5 separate regions of the Homo sapiens genome follow, and regions 1, 3, 4 and 5 are each linked to region 2. Evidence: promoter capture Hi-C in 16 types of primary human blood cells and fetal thymus (Javierre and others, 2016). All regions are on one chromosome and are shown on one strand. Each heading gives the region's core, a stretch centred on a gene start or on the middle of the fragment in contact. The rest is flanking DNA. Distances are from core to core; before and after follow the strand shown.

The links. The method cuts DNA at HindIII sites, captures the fragments that hold promoters and counts their contacts. A CHiCAGO score of 5 or more calls a contact.
Region 1: a contact is called between a fragment that was not itself captured here and the fragment with the promoter of PRSS8 in region 2, in 5 of 17 cell types (monocytes, neutrophils, M0 macrophages and 2 more). The highest score is 8.3, in monocytes.
Region 3: a fragment that was not itself captured here is called in contact with the fragment with the promoter of PRSS8 in region 2 in 1 of 17 cell types (monocytes); the score reaches 5.1 in monocytes.
Region 4: a contact is called between a fragment that was not itself captured here and the fragment with the promoter of PRSS8 in region 2, in 1 of 17 cell types (monocytes). The highest score is 5.0, in monocytes.
Region 5: a contact is called between a fragment that was not itself captured here and the fragment with the promoter of PRSS8 in region 2, in 14 of 17 cell types (M0 macrophages, total CD8 T cells, naive CD8 T cells and 11 more). The highest score is 11.1, in M0 macrophages.

Annotation. Positions count from the first base shown.
Region 1 is chr16:31,394,862-31,397,561 of GRCh38, reverse strand. It overlaps ITGAD (integrin subunit alpha D), which reads right to left. Exons shown (of 30, transcript NM_005353.3): 3 at 100-203. Among named protein-coding and RNA genes, the nearest start is that of ITGAD, 2.9 kb to the right of the region's middle. The HindIII fragment of the contact is 5,767 bases long and covers 1-2,700 here.
Region 2 is chr16:31,134,357-31,137,056 of GRCh38, reverse strand. It overlaps PRSS8 (serine protease 8), which reads left to right and starts at 1,330. Exons shown (of 6, transcript NM_002773.5): 1 at 1,330-1,643; 2 at 1,886-1,903. The coding sequence starts at 1,559. RefSeq lists an enhancer at 2,269-2,700. The HindIII fragment of the contact is 17,481 bases long and covers 1-2,700 here.
Region 3 is chr16:30,874,473-30,877,172 of GRCh38, reverse strand. MIR4519 (microRNA 4519) reads left to right here and starts at 1,850; the gene lies at 1,850-1,907. It overlaps MIR762HG (MIR762 host gene), which reads right to left and starts at 1,713. Exons shown (of 3, transcript NR_110942.1): 1 at 1,687-1,713; 2 at 1,055-1,143. It also overlaps a transcript of BCL7C not described here. RefSeq lists a silencer at 941-1,000 and enhancers at 1,321-1,370, 1,401-1,610, 920-1,674, 1,881-2,140, 1,675-2,429 and 1 more. The HindIII fragment of the contact is 2,091 bases long and covers 363-2,453 here.
Region 4 is chr16:30,726,146-30,728,845 of GRCh38, reverse strand. All of the region lies in intron 25 of SRCAP (Snf2 related CREBBP activator protein), which reads right to left. Among named protein-coding and RNA genes, the nearest start is that of TMEM265, 13 kb to the left of the region's middle. The HindIII fragment of the contact is 4,495 bases long and covers 1-2,700 here.
Region 5 is chr16:31,451,980-31,454,679 of GRCh38, reverse strand. No RefSeq gene overlaps it. Among named protein-coding and RNA genes, the nearest start is that of ARMC5, 6.2 kb to the left of the region's middle. RefSeq lists enhancers at 453-1,224, 1,225-1,997, 2,578-2,700. The HindIII fragment of the contact is 3,667 bases long and covers 1-2,700 here.

The sequences.
Region 1 (2,700 bases), core at 11-2,510, 260 kb before region 2:
CACACACTCATTTGCGGGGAAGGTCTGGACTGGAAGCTAAGCGGGGGCACAGTTGGGTCCAGGAGGGTTGAGGGGCCCAATTCCCAGGTGGTCACTCACTGTGCAGCGGGATGGGCTGGCACATGCCGGTGGCAGCTGCGCAGTCATACAGCCGTCCCGTCTGGTTGGCCGCCACCACCTCCAGGGGTGCTCCCACCACGAGTCTGGAGACACAACCATGGCCATGTCACTGCAGCCACAGGAGGGGTGGGAGCAGCGGGCACTTGGGGGTGAGGAAGTGTCCCTCCATGGGGAAGCGAGACTCTGTGGGGGAAATTCCTGGCATTTGCCACTTGGCAGAATATTCAGAAATCAGGGCCCAAGTGTAACTCACAGATGCCCAGGGGCCATGCTGGGGTTTATTTGGTTTTGAGTGTGCATAAGTACGTATGTGTGTATTTATGTTTAGAAATTTCTTTTTAACATTCACCAAAAAAAAAAAAAAAAAAAAAAAAAAAAACCTATTTAAAGACCAAAATGGCATTTCCCAATCATGGGTAAGCACATTGCGTTTCTGAGTTGCCATTATTTTGAACCACCCAAGAAATAAGATCATCTCAAGTTAATTGGAACAATTTCCTGAAGACATGTGCTTTCAAAACAAATAGTTGATTCTGTAATTCATTGGACCAATTTAAATATTGTATAAGCAATTTCAATTGGCCAATGTAAAGCAGTGTACTAGGATCCATAACTATATCTATAGTTATGTAGAGTCAAGGGTTTATTTGCAAAACTCCCTGAGTGGGAAAGTTTTTTAATTTTGGAAATGTTTTCTCACTACCCACAATCTCCTGTCTGTGAGAAAAGCAGACAGATACTGGTGTATTTTAATGCGCCAAGCAAGGCTTCATTAAATGGCCATGTGAGGGTTCCTTCTAGGTGCCGCTCCTTTACAGAAAGCTACAATCCCTGTGCATCATGATTCAGGGGATGCCTAAGGCTTTGTGAAGAAAATCTGAGCATTGGCTAGAGAGGTAGCAGTTTGGAACCTGCTGATACAAACGATGAGCAAAACTTTAGTGTAACCCATCAACCCATATGTTTTTTGAGACAGAGTTTCACTCTGTCACCCAGGTTGGAGTGCAATGGCGTGATCTCAGCTCACTGCAACCTCCACCTCCCAGGTTCAAGCAAATCTCCTATTTCAGTCACCCAGCTAGCTGGGATTACAGGCACCTGCCATCACGCCAGGCTAATTTTTGTATTTTTTAGTAGAGACAGGGTTTCACCATATTGGTCAGGCTGGTCTTGAACTCTTGACCTTAGGTGATCCACCCGCCTCAGCCTCCCAAAGTTCTAGGATTATAGGCATGAGCCACTGCACTCAGCCAATGTATTCTTTTTTTAAAATGTGGCCCAAAAAACTGATGGTGACAGAAGTCTGACCAGGGGTTCTCTGGGGATGTTGGGTGATGAGAAGGGGTCCACGGCAGCCCTGTGCCTGTGGGATTTGACACTGGAGCAGCTGACCTAGGTGGGGCTCACCCAGGCACGCACATGTGTATCCTTTATCAGATTGGGTCTTTCAGATTTGTGCACCTCAGTTGACCACATTTCCAAATAAAGAAAAACAAAAGCCTGGTGCCTGGTGCTTGCTTCCATCCCCCCAGACTGCCAGTCACATGAGGAAGGGAGAGGGGTGCGCGGTTGGAGCTCGGTGACCTCTTATAGCTCCTCGTGACCAACTGAGCCTTCCTGTCCACTGGGGCTCACTGCCAGCACCACTTCCTCCATGGAACCCTCCTGGGTCTGCTCTCTCCCTGCCTGCGCCCCCCAGACCTTGGTGACACCTGTGTCACATTGTGACTTGAACTCTCTGGGACAGGAGAATGTGAGCTCCTGGAAGTGGGGGCAGGTTCATAATTTGTGGGTCCCAATTTGAAATAAAACTGTGGGGTCTCTTGGGGTTGGGGGGCTCTTACCTTTCTTCTGCTCTCTTCCTCAACCTGTCCTGACGTTTTTTATTTGCTATGTAGTGTCCCACTCCCTCGGGGTACTCCCAGAGTGAGCGCCCCTAACTGACTTTACCCAGCTCATGCCAGGGGCGGAAGGTAGCAGCGGTCATTGCTCCCACATGGGTGGGGGAGCCAGCAGCTGATACCCCTTCACCACCCTTCAGGAGGCGGTGGGAGGTGGGGCTGCTGCTGAGCTAAGGCTCCAAACCCCCAGTGCATCTCCCTTCTCCCATGACTTTTTTTTTTTGACGGAGTCTCACTCTGTCACCTAGGCTGGAGTAAAGTGGCACGATCTCGGCTCACTGCAACCTCCACCTCCCAGGTTCAAGCGATTCTCCTGCCTCAGCCTCCCAAGTAGCTGGGATTACAGATGCCTGCCACCATGCCCGGCTAATTTTTTTTGCATTTTTAGTAGAGATGGGGTTTTGCTGTGTTGGCCAAACTGGTCTCAAACTCCTGGCCTCAGATGATCTGCCCGCCTCAGCCTCCCAAAGCGTTGGGATTATAGGCGTGAGCCATGGTGCCCAGCCCTGCCATCATTCTTTACTTGCAAAACACAAATGCACAGATAAAATTTTTAAGAATTGGCAAGACAGGGTGGCTCACACCTGTAATCCCAGCACTTTGGGAGGCCAAGGCAGGAGGATTGCTTGAGCCCAGGAGTTCAGCCAGTCTGGACAACATAGCAAGACTCCATCTCTGT
Region 2 (2,700 bases), core at 81-2,580:
GCCTCAACAGGTGTTTTGAACGGCCAGAGTGGCCCTCAAGGAGGATACATGCCTCACTCCCACCGCAGCCACACGGCAAGCCTTCTTTCCCTGAGCCTCTGCCCTCTGCACCCCATCCCCCCATCTTCGCCTTACCACCTTTTATAATCCCTTTCGGTCTCAGTTTCCAAGGCAATTCCTCGAGGACCCTTTCACAATGCCAGCCTTTGCCAGGCTGTGGTGTGCTCACGCCATTCTTTTTCATCACTATTCCTAGCTTGAAATTATTGTGTAATTGCAATTTTTTTTTTTAAGACAGGGTCTCCCTCTGTTGCCCAGGCTGGAGTGCAGTGGCGTGATCATAGCTCAATGCTTCGTTGAACTCCTGGGCTCAAGCAATCCTCCTGCCTCAGCCTCCCAAATAGCTGGAACCATAGGCATGCGCCACAATGCCTGCCTAATTTTTATATTTCTTTGTAGAGATGAGGCCTCGCTATATTCCCCAGGCTGGTCTGGAACTCCTGGCTTCAAGTGATGCTCCAGCCTCAGCCTCCCAAAGCCGACTAGCCACCTTGCCAGCCTGTTTGTGATTATTTGATTGAAGTGTGTCACCCCTACTTCACCATGAGCTCAGGGCTCAAGGGGGACGGGGCTGGTGCCTGTTTTGTCCTGGACACCTGGGAACATCATAGGCACTTAGGAAATGTCTGTGGGATGATTGGTGCTGCTCCACAAGCTCGCCACCACCCATGAGGTGCAGGCATCGCAGAAAGGGCCTGGCAGGGGACAGACCATAGTGTCTTAAGCTCCCATAACCAGCCTAAGGAGGGAGGGAAGAAGGGAGGAGTGGCTGTGGCTCCAGATAATAAAAGCTGGGGCCAGGCCCTGGGGGGCATAACTGGCCTGAGATAACCTGAAAGACCTGAGGCGGAGGAGAGTCGTCACATTCCAGGGAGACTGCACACACACACAAACCACATGCACGTGCATGCACGCACACTCAGACACACACACTACACACACAGGGACACACACAGCCTACACATGTGCACATACAGCCTGTACATGCACACACACACACATACCACACCACATAAGAGGACACACACAGCCTACACAGGCATACACACACACCACATACACACTACACACCGGGACACACACACAAAAGGCCTATGCATGTGCACACACATACACACGGACACATACATGCACACACACGGGCCTGCAGCTCTGAAAGGACTCATGACTTTGGTGGCAAGAGGAGCTGGCGGAGCCCAGCCAGTGGGCGGGGCCAGGGGAGGGGCGGGCAGGTAGGTGCAGCCACTCCTGGGAGGACCCTGCGTGGCCAGACGGTGCTGGTGACTCGTCCACACTGCTCGCTTCGGATACTCCAGGCGTCTCCCGTTGCGGCCGCTCCCTGCCTTAGAGGCCAGCCTTGGACACTTGCTGCCCCTTTCCAGCCCGGATTCTGGGATCCTTCCCTCTGAGCCAACATCTGGGTCCTGCCTTCGACACCACCCCAAGGCTTCCTACCTTGCGTGCCTGGAGTCTGCCCCAGGGGCCCTTGTCCTGGGCCATGGCCCAGAAGGGGGTCCTGGGGCCTGGGCAGCTGGGGGCTGTGGCCATTCTGCTCTATCTTGGATTACTCCGGTCGGGGACAGGTAAGTGAGGACGTGGGGGCAGGGTGGGGACAATGCACTGGAGGGAGCCGGCGTGATCATTTTCTGGGGTGTGCCCTTGTCTGGGGCCCAAGAAAACCCCCGGCCTCCCTAGCTCTTGGCCTCTCTTTCCCACCTTGGCTCTGTCAGGGAAGGGGCCAGCCCTCTGGAGCAGTGGTGGGTACTAAGGGGTCAGGGAACCCGAGTCTTCCCTACTCACCCCTCCTCTTTCTCTTTCTTTCTAGGAGCGGAAGGGGCAGAAGGTGAGACTTTCCTCGGAGAGGGAGGAGGGGAGGGGGAGGTGACTTGGATCGGATTCCCCTGGGGTTTAACCAGTGCCTGGCCTTCAGCTGGGCTGCCTTCCAACTAGATTCTCTTAGGGCTCCCAGAGTGGGGGGTTTTAGCCCTCACCTTATGGGCAGAGAAGCAGGGACTTGCCCAGGGCACACTGCCAGTGAAGGTGCAGCTGGGATTCAGATCCACGTCTGACTCCCAAAGTGGGGCAATCGAGGTGGTTTTTTTGGTTTGGTTTTTGTCTTTTGAAACAGGGTCTGGGTCTGTCGTCACCCAGGCTGGAGTGCAGTGGCCCGATCGCAGCTCACTGCAGTCTCAGTGATCCAGCCTCCCGGGCTCACGTGATCCTCCCACCTCCCCACCTCAGCCTCCCTAGTGGCTGGGACTACAGGTGCATGCCATCACACCCAGCTAGTTGTGTTTTGTTTTTGTTTTTGTTTTTGTTTGGTAGAGATGTGGGTCTCACTATGTTGGCCGGGCAGGTCTTGAACTCCTGGGCTCAAGCGATCCTCCTGCCTTGGCCTCTCAAAGTGCTGGGATTACAGGTGTGAGCCACCGTTCCCATCCTGGAGGTGGTTTTGAGGGAACCAAACCAAGGGTCTCCTTTCTTGGAAGGCACCCAACCCAGCTCTGAGTCAGACCGGCTTTCAATCCTGGCTTCCCCATGCACTGGCTGTGTGTCATTGGCCAAGTCCCCCCACTTCTCTAAGCCTTAGACTCCTCACCTCTAAAATGAAGCTGGTCATGTCCGTCTCCTGGGGCTGTG
Region 3 (2,700 bases), core at 159-2,658, 260 kb after region 2:
GGGTGCAGAACACTGACTGCCCTGGGGGCGGAGTCTCTGCCCTTCAGTCCCCGCAATCCCTACCGCTCCCTGGTGTTCCACTCTCCTCCTTGCTGTTCACTTGCATGGCCTCCAGGCTAATGGCTGAGTTTTGCGGCCAGGCATTTCAGGCCTCCCAGCCTTGGCCTCTGCTCACCTTCTCCACCTCCTCACTCCCTGCTCTAGTCATCTTCATCTCATGTCCTGCCCTCCAGCCACATGGGCTTCTTGGTCCCTTCCACACCTGTTTTTGCCCATGGAGTTCTCCCACCAAGTTCCTTATGGTAGAAAAGCCCCTGCTGGATTTGGCCCCTGCCCACCTCTCCTGCCCCTTTCCCCAAGCTTTCTTCCAACTCATGCATAGAACTTCTACCACAAGGAAGCTGGCCAGGCTGTTAGCACTCCCGTTCCCTCTGTCTGTGAAGCCCTTTCCTTCCCTCCACCCTCCCCTTCTCTCTCTTATCTCAGGCTTTGGGTTTGATTTCACCTCCTCCAAGGTTCCCTGACCTTCAAACTAGGTCAGGTCCCTGGTTAGTCACTATACTTCCTCTTTCTCACCTCCTTCATCTCACTTCCCCTGCTAGAATAAGGCCACATCTGTCTCATAATCTCTGTCTTCCTAGGGCCTAGTGTGGTGCCTGGCATACAGTAGGTGCTCATTAATGATAAATGAATGAAAGCAAGCACATCTCCCTTTCTCTACTGGCAAAATCCTAATCCTTTTCTGGTTACATTTCTCCTGTAGCATCCAATTCTGTTCTCGAGACCCAAAAGATCCCTGAGGTCCTGTGATCAATGGAGTTTTAGCTCAGGTCCATTTCACAGTGGGCCCAGGGGATCCCCAGATTCATCCGTGGTTATTTCCCCAGGCACAGAGTGAGTGCACTGGTGGCACAGGCATACCCAGCAAGTGGCATAATCCCCCCCATTAGTTAACTGGGTGTCGCTGTGCATGGCTGTGAAGGCAGGGATGCACCTGGCTGGTGACCCCAGAACCCCTCCGGGTACGGCACAAGGGCAGAGCCCAAGAACTTACTTTCTGTCCTCTTGCATTTGCCTGTGGATTTGCAGTTGGTAATGGCGTTCTTGCCCGGCCCTCCTTTGTTCCTCCAGGCAGCCAGGCAGCTGTGGCGTAGTGAAAGGGCAGGATGCGGGATAGGAATGGAGTTATTCCTGATTCAGACTGATTTGCTCTAACTGTGATTTGGGGCAAGTCCCTTCCCCTGTCTAGACCTTAGCTGGCTGCCGCATCTAAAAAATGGAGCCAATAATCTTTTCCTCGTCTTTGGGGTCATCCATCTTTCAACCACATCAGGAGCAGCGGGAACCAAGTGCAGAGGATGGCCTTAAAAGCAGTATGGGAACCAAATTTTTGTAAAGTAAATATTTTCAACCTTTATATTTTGGAATCACCAGCGGTATTTATTACGTGCACTCTAGGAAATGGAGGCAATGCAATGCCAAAAACAGAAAGTAAAACTGCTGTCCTGTGCCGCGGCCCGGTGGAGGTTTTAATGTCTGTATCTTAAGATCTGGTGAGGGCACGGGTAGGTGCGGCTGGACTGAGTGAAACCAGCCCCGCTGGGCGCCTGGGCCCTTGTCTCAGGGCTGTGCTCGCAGTGGAGGCATCTGCAGCTCGGCACCCAGAGGCCCCGCGACCCTTCCAACCTTTGTGACGCTCCGCGGAGACAAAGGCCGGCGGCGCAGCCTTGGGAAGGGTTAAGGCCACAGACGCAGCCCTGCGCGTGCTAGAGCGGCCGGTGGCGGACTTCCGGTTGGGGCGCGGGCGCGCGCCGCGTGTTCCCGACCCGCCGAGGCTGAGACCTCGGGCAACCTCAGCAGTGCGCAGGGCTGCACTGTCTCCGTCTGCGGCCTGCAGTAAGCGGGTAGGGGATATGTCGCGTGGCCTCGCCTGGTCTGCGGCGGGAAACTCGCATCTAGGCCAGACCCTCCCGCAGGGTCCGCACTCGCGATCTGGGCTGTGGGCAGCATCGTGGCCCCTCGGGGCGTTATAGGGGCGTGAGGATCCCGGGCGAGCTGGGGGCGGGCGGCTTCTTCAGCTCCCTTGCGCCATGGAACCCACTGTATGCCCGTTATGCAGTCAGGAAAGATGAGGCCGGGAAGGAGGGCGTTACGCTGCAACCCCGGAGACCAGCTGTCCCTCGCGTTGCCGCAGTCGGCAGAGGCGTGGCCGGAGCCATTCCCGGTCTCCAGTGCGGCTGCAAGAGCGGGCGCCCGAGGGCGTTCTGCTCCGGGCCTCCACCCGCGAGCTGACCGTGTCAGGCGCGCCACACACGGCGCTTCTCATTCTCTCTCCACCTCGCGAGGCAGAAGCTGCCGTTCCCGTGTCACAGACAGAAAAACAGTCTGGGGTGATTTATCCGGAGTCAAGACTCAGGTCTGTGGCTCAGTCGGGAAGGATAGAAACCCAAGCTTCCTCCGAATGGTTCAGAGACCCGACCAAGTTAAATAATAATGGCCCTGGCTCAGGGGTCTTTAAGTCTTCCCCCCGCCCTCCCCTTTTGTTTTTGTTTTGTTTTGAGACCGCCTCACTGTCCCCCAGGCTGGAGTGCAGCGGTGCGATCTCCGCTCACTGCAGCTTCGACCTCCCGAGGGCTCAGGTGATCCTCCCACCTCAACCTCAGGAGTGTCTGGGACTACAAACACGCGCCACCACGCCCG
Region 4 (2,700 bases), core at 165-2,664, 410 kb after region 2:
TTTTTGTAGTTTTCCAAGTTATCAATGAGAACTATTCTTTCTCAGAAGTTATGTTAAATAACTTTCTTTTTTATGTTAAATAACTATTCTTTCTCAGAAGTTATGTTAAGTAACTTCTCTCCTAGAGAAAACTGATCTTTCCTTGTATGCTACCAAAGCAGAATGACTGAATATTCAAAATTAAGATCTACAATTCCAACAAGTTTATAGAATGGACGATTTGTGGGTATTTTCCTACGTAACACTCAACTCCAGGACTATAGCCTTCTTCAAATCACTGACCAGGATACAGAGGCGCCAATCAAATCCAGACCAGGTTTTTGCCAAGGGCCAGACTGGAATGGGGTGGAATGGGAACAGCTAACCGGACATCCGAGTCTCATCACTCTGAGACAGAAAATGGGCAACCCGGCAGTGAGGACACCTGGATGACTTTGACCCAATCCTTTCCCATCTTTGTGCTTCCAGTTTCACAGTCTGAAAAACTTCTTTGTATCACTTATTATGCTTGTAGTTACACATCTGTATGATTATTTAACTAATATCTATCCACTACACGGTAGGCCCCATACAACATGAACTGTGCCTTGCTCACTATAATCACTCAGTAACTAGCACAATTAAGCTCTCAATACATTTATCTGTTAACAAAATGAACAAATGAGGGAGACTAGACCCCAAGAGATAGTTGTGAAAAGAGGAGTGTTCCAAATCTCCTTCCTGACTGCTACCAAGTTTCACCTCTTGGCTTGAAGTGCTCTATGTGAGGGAAAAAAGGTGTCCTAGCAGACGGAAAAACCAATAAACTCAAAGAGCTAGTTCCTTTTGAGGCTAGCTCCCAATAGTAGCAAAAAGAGAAAATCTGGCCAGGAGCAGTGGCTCAAGCCTATAATCCCAGCACTTTGGGAGGCCTAGGTGGATGGTTTGAGCCTCCTATTCAAGACCAGTTTGGGCAACATGGCAAAACCGCATCTCTACAAAAAATACAAACAAGGGCCAGGCGCGGTGGCTCACACCTGTAATCCCAGCACTTTGGGAGGCCGAGGCGGGCAGATCATGAGCTCAAGATATCAAGACCATCCTGGCCAACATGATGAAACCCTATCTCTACTAAAATTACAAAAAAGTTAGCTGGGCGTGGTGGTGCAAGCCTGTAGTCCCAGCTACTTGGGAGGCTGAGCAGGAGAATCGCTTGAACCTGGGAGGCGGAGGTTGCAGTGAGCTGAGATCGCACCACTGCACTGCAGCCTGGTGACAGAGTGAGTCTCCATCTCAAAAAAAGAAACAAACAAGTAGCCTGGCATGGTGGCACAAGCCTACAGTCCCAGCTACTTGGAGGGCTGAGATGGGAGGTTCACTTAAGCCCAGGAGGCTGCAATGAGCGGAGACTGTGCCACTGCACTCTAGCCTGATTGACAAAGTGAGACACTGTCTCAAAAAAAAGACTATTTGTAAACCATACGTCTGAAAAAGGATCTGTAATCAGAATATATAAAGAACTCTTACAACTCAATAATAAAAAGACAACCCATTTTAAAAGGGCAGAGGATCTGAACAGATAGTTCTTCAAAGATACACAAATGGCCAGCATGGTATTTCAACCACATGAAATAAAGCTCAACATTAGCCAACAGGGAAATTCAAATCAAAATCACAATGAACTACTACTTCACACCCAGCAGGATGGCTATAATCAAAGTGATGATGTGCCAGGCATGGTGGCTCACACCTGTAATCCTAGCACTTTGGGAGGCTGAGGCGGGCAGATCACTTGAGGTGTGGAATTCGAAACCAGCGTGGCAAACATGGTAAACCCCATCTCTACTAAAAATACAAAAAAATCTGGCCAGGTGCAGTGGCTCATGTCTATAATCCCAGCACTTTGGGAGGCCAAGGCAGGCGGATCACCTGAGGTCAGGAGTTCGAGACCAGCCCGGCCAACATGGTGAAACCCCATCTCTACTAAAAATAAAAAAATTAGCCAGGCGTGGTGACGCCATGCCTGTAGTCCCAGCCACTCGGGAAGATGACACAGGAAAATCGTTTGAGCCTGGGAAGTGGAGGTTGCAGTGAGCCGGGATGGTGCCACTTTACTCCAGCCTGGGCAACAGAGCAAGATTCTGTCTCAAAAATAAAATAAAATAATAAGAATACAAAAAAATTAGGTAGGCATGGTGCCACATGCCTGTAATCCCAGCTACGAGGGAGGTTGAGGTGGGGTCACTTAAACCCAGGAGACAGAGGTTGCAGTGAGCCAAGACCGTGCCAAAGCACTCCAGCCTGGGTAACAGAGCAAGACTCCTTCTCAAAAAAAAAAAAAAAAGTATTGGCTCAAATGTGGAGAAACTGGAATCCTCACAGACTGCTGGTGGTAATGTCAAATGCTGCAGCCACTTTGGAAAAGTCTGGCAGTTCCTTAAACAGTTAAAACCTAGTTACAATATAACCCAGCAATTCTTCTCCTCAGTATGTATCTAACAGAAACTGAGAACACCTGTCCATACAAAAACTTGTACATGAAATGTTCACAGCAGCATTGTTCATAACAACCATAAAGCAGAAGTAACACACGTTTCCATCAACTCAAGGATAAAATGTGGTATTCATACATTATTATTCAACATAAAAACAAATGAAGTACTGATATACGCTATAACACAATAAAATTCAAAGAACATTAATCTAAGTAGAAGATGCCAG
Region 5 (2,700 bases), core at 132-2,631, 320 kb before region 2:
TGTGTTGCCCAGGCTGGTCTTGAACTCCTGAGTTCAAGTGTTCCTCTGGTCTCAGCCTCCCAAAATGCTGGGATTACAGATGTGAGCCACCTAACCTGGTCTTTTTATTTTTTTAAAGAGCCAACATTTAAATAAGGAGATTTCACATCACAGTCGATTTCTGGGGCTTGGTTTGTTGTTGTTTTTTTTGTTTTTTTTTTTTTTTAATTGAGACAGGATCTTGCCAGGTTGCAGACTGGTCTTGAACTCCTAGGCTCAAATGATCCCCTCCTGGCCGGGCACGGTGGCTCACGCCTGTAATCCCAGCACTTTGGGAGGCCTAGGTGGGCGGATCACGAGGTCAGGAGATCGAGACCTTCCTGGCTAACAAGGTGAAATCCTGTCTCTACTAAAAATACAAAAAATTAGCTGGAAATGGTGGCAGGCGCCTATAGTTCCAGCTACTCAAGAGGCTGAGGCAAGAGAATGGCATGAACCCAGGAGGCAGAGCTTGCAGTGGGCGGAGATCCTGTCACTGCAATCCAGCCTGGGTGACAGAGCAAGACTCCGTTTCAAAAAAAAAAAGAAAAGATCCCCTGCCCCGGCCCTTCCCTCCCCCACCCACCTCGGCTTCCGAAAGTGGTAGGATTACAGGCGTCAGTCACCACACCCGGCCTGCTTTATTATTTATATCAGAAGATGCTGCAACATTGGATTTTTATGGCAGCAGTTCGTTGAGTAGTGGCTGTCCTGGACATAGGAACAGGGACACTCCCTCTTGCATCCCTGACTCAGCACGTTTCATATGTGTTACTTGCCTGTCCCCTGCAGAAAAGTACTTGAGGTTACAGTCTCCATCCCACCCCACTGTGGGTGAGAAGGACCTTTCCATGCAGTGAAGGCACTTTTCCCCTTTCCTTCACCCCTTCCTGTTCCCTTCTCTGCCGTTTTCCTTCTTCTCCCCCAGAACTCCTCTGTGAAATACCTGGCCTCCTTCCCTGAGCCTCCCTGTCTCCCTGCCACCCCATCTCCACTCCGTGCTATGACATCACCCCGTAATTTGAAGCTCCTTTCCCTATCTGAAGGGAGGCAGAGACAGAGTGCACAGGCTCAACTAGGCAAGGCAGACCCTTGCATGCCTGGGTCAGAGGTCAGGGTCTCTGGCACACATTCCTCCCAGAGCAACTGTAGGAAGCAAGCCAGTACAGAGGTACTCTAAGCGCTAGACAGGACGGGGTGGGAGTCGGTAACATCGTCTCCTCTGGGCTGGCCCTGCTTCTGCTTAGCTCTGGGCATAAGACTGACTCCAGTACAGTCACAGTTATGTCTCTGAGCTCACCCAGTCCTGGGTTCCAGGTTCCCAGCTCTGAGCCTGGCGAGACACACACAGGCTGGTGCTGTGGGATGTCTTGGTACGGTGGCTCACGCCTGTATTCCCAGCGCTTTGGGAGGCCGAGGTGGGCAGATCACCTGAGGTCAGGAGTTCGAGACCAGGCTGCCCAACGTGGTGAAACCCTGTCTCTACCAAAAATATAAAAATTAGCCAGGCATGGTGGCACGTGCCTGTAATCCCAGCTACTTGGGAGGTTGAGGCAGGAAAATTGCTTGAACCCAGGAGGTGGAGGTTTCAGTGAGCCAAGATCGTGCCACTGCACCCCAGTTTGGATGAAAGAGTGAGACTCCGTTTCAAAAAAAAAACAAAAAAAACAAAACCAAAAAATAAAAAAACACATCAGCTTGACATTTTGGAGGCATTCCCAGACTCAGGGTTAGTCAGCAGATTAGCATTTAAAAGAAAGTCTTGTCCCTACAGATTCCCTGACCTCAGCTACCCATGAAGGGTGGGAAGAGGAGTCCTTAGCAAGAAGTCCAGGAAGTTGACAACCTCCTCAGACCTGATAGGACACTCCTCTCTCCACCCTGCCTCCTGACTGATTTAATCTCAGGGGTGTGAGGACCTCTGAGATAGGCCCCAGGAGTCTCACCCGCACCACTTATGTCTCAGGGCTAACCAGAGACTCCCTGAAACAGATCCTAGAGGATTCCCAAGTGATAGGATAAATAGAGAGGTACTGAGACTTCCTGGCGTGGGTGACCTCTCCCAGGCTGGCCAACCTCCCCCATTCAGAAATTTGCTGAGCACCAGGAGTGAATGAAGTAAAGGAAGCCCCTAGGAGTTCAAGAAGCAGAGATTTCCAGGTCCATGCACCAAAGCTCATGTGCTCAATTCTCAGGAAAGGCCTCACTCAGTTAAAAAATTTTGTATCATGAAAGGGTAAATGAATTAATTAGTGAATCTGGTTTCTAAGCCAATGGCTTACTAGAAATATTATAGTAAATCAGAAAAAAAAAAAAAGGCGGTGGCTCACACCTATAATCCCAGCACTTTGAGAGGCTGAGGTGAGAGGATGCTTTGAGCCCAGGAGTTCGAGACTAGCCTGGGCAACATAGCAAACCCCATCTCTAGAAAAAATTAAAAAACCAGCCAGGTGTGGTGATGTTCACTGTAGTCCCAGCTATTCAGGAGGCTGAGGCAGGAGGACCGCTTGAGCCCAGGAATTTGAGACTGCAGTGAGCTAGGATTGTGCCACTGCACCCCAGCCTGGGCAACAGAGTGAGACCCTGTCTCTAAAAAAATAATTTTTTTTAAAGATAATTCTTCAAAGGAGATCCGCTCTTCCTTTCCTACACCCATTCCCTTTCCTCCCTTTCCTGAACAAT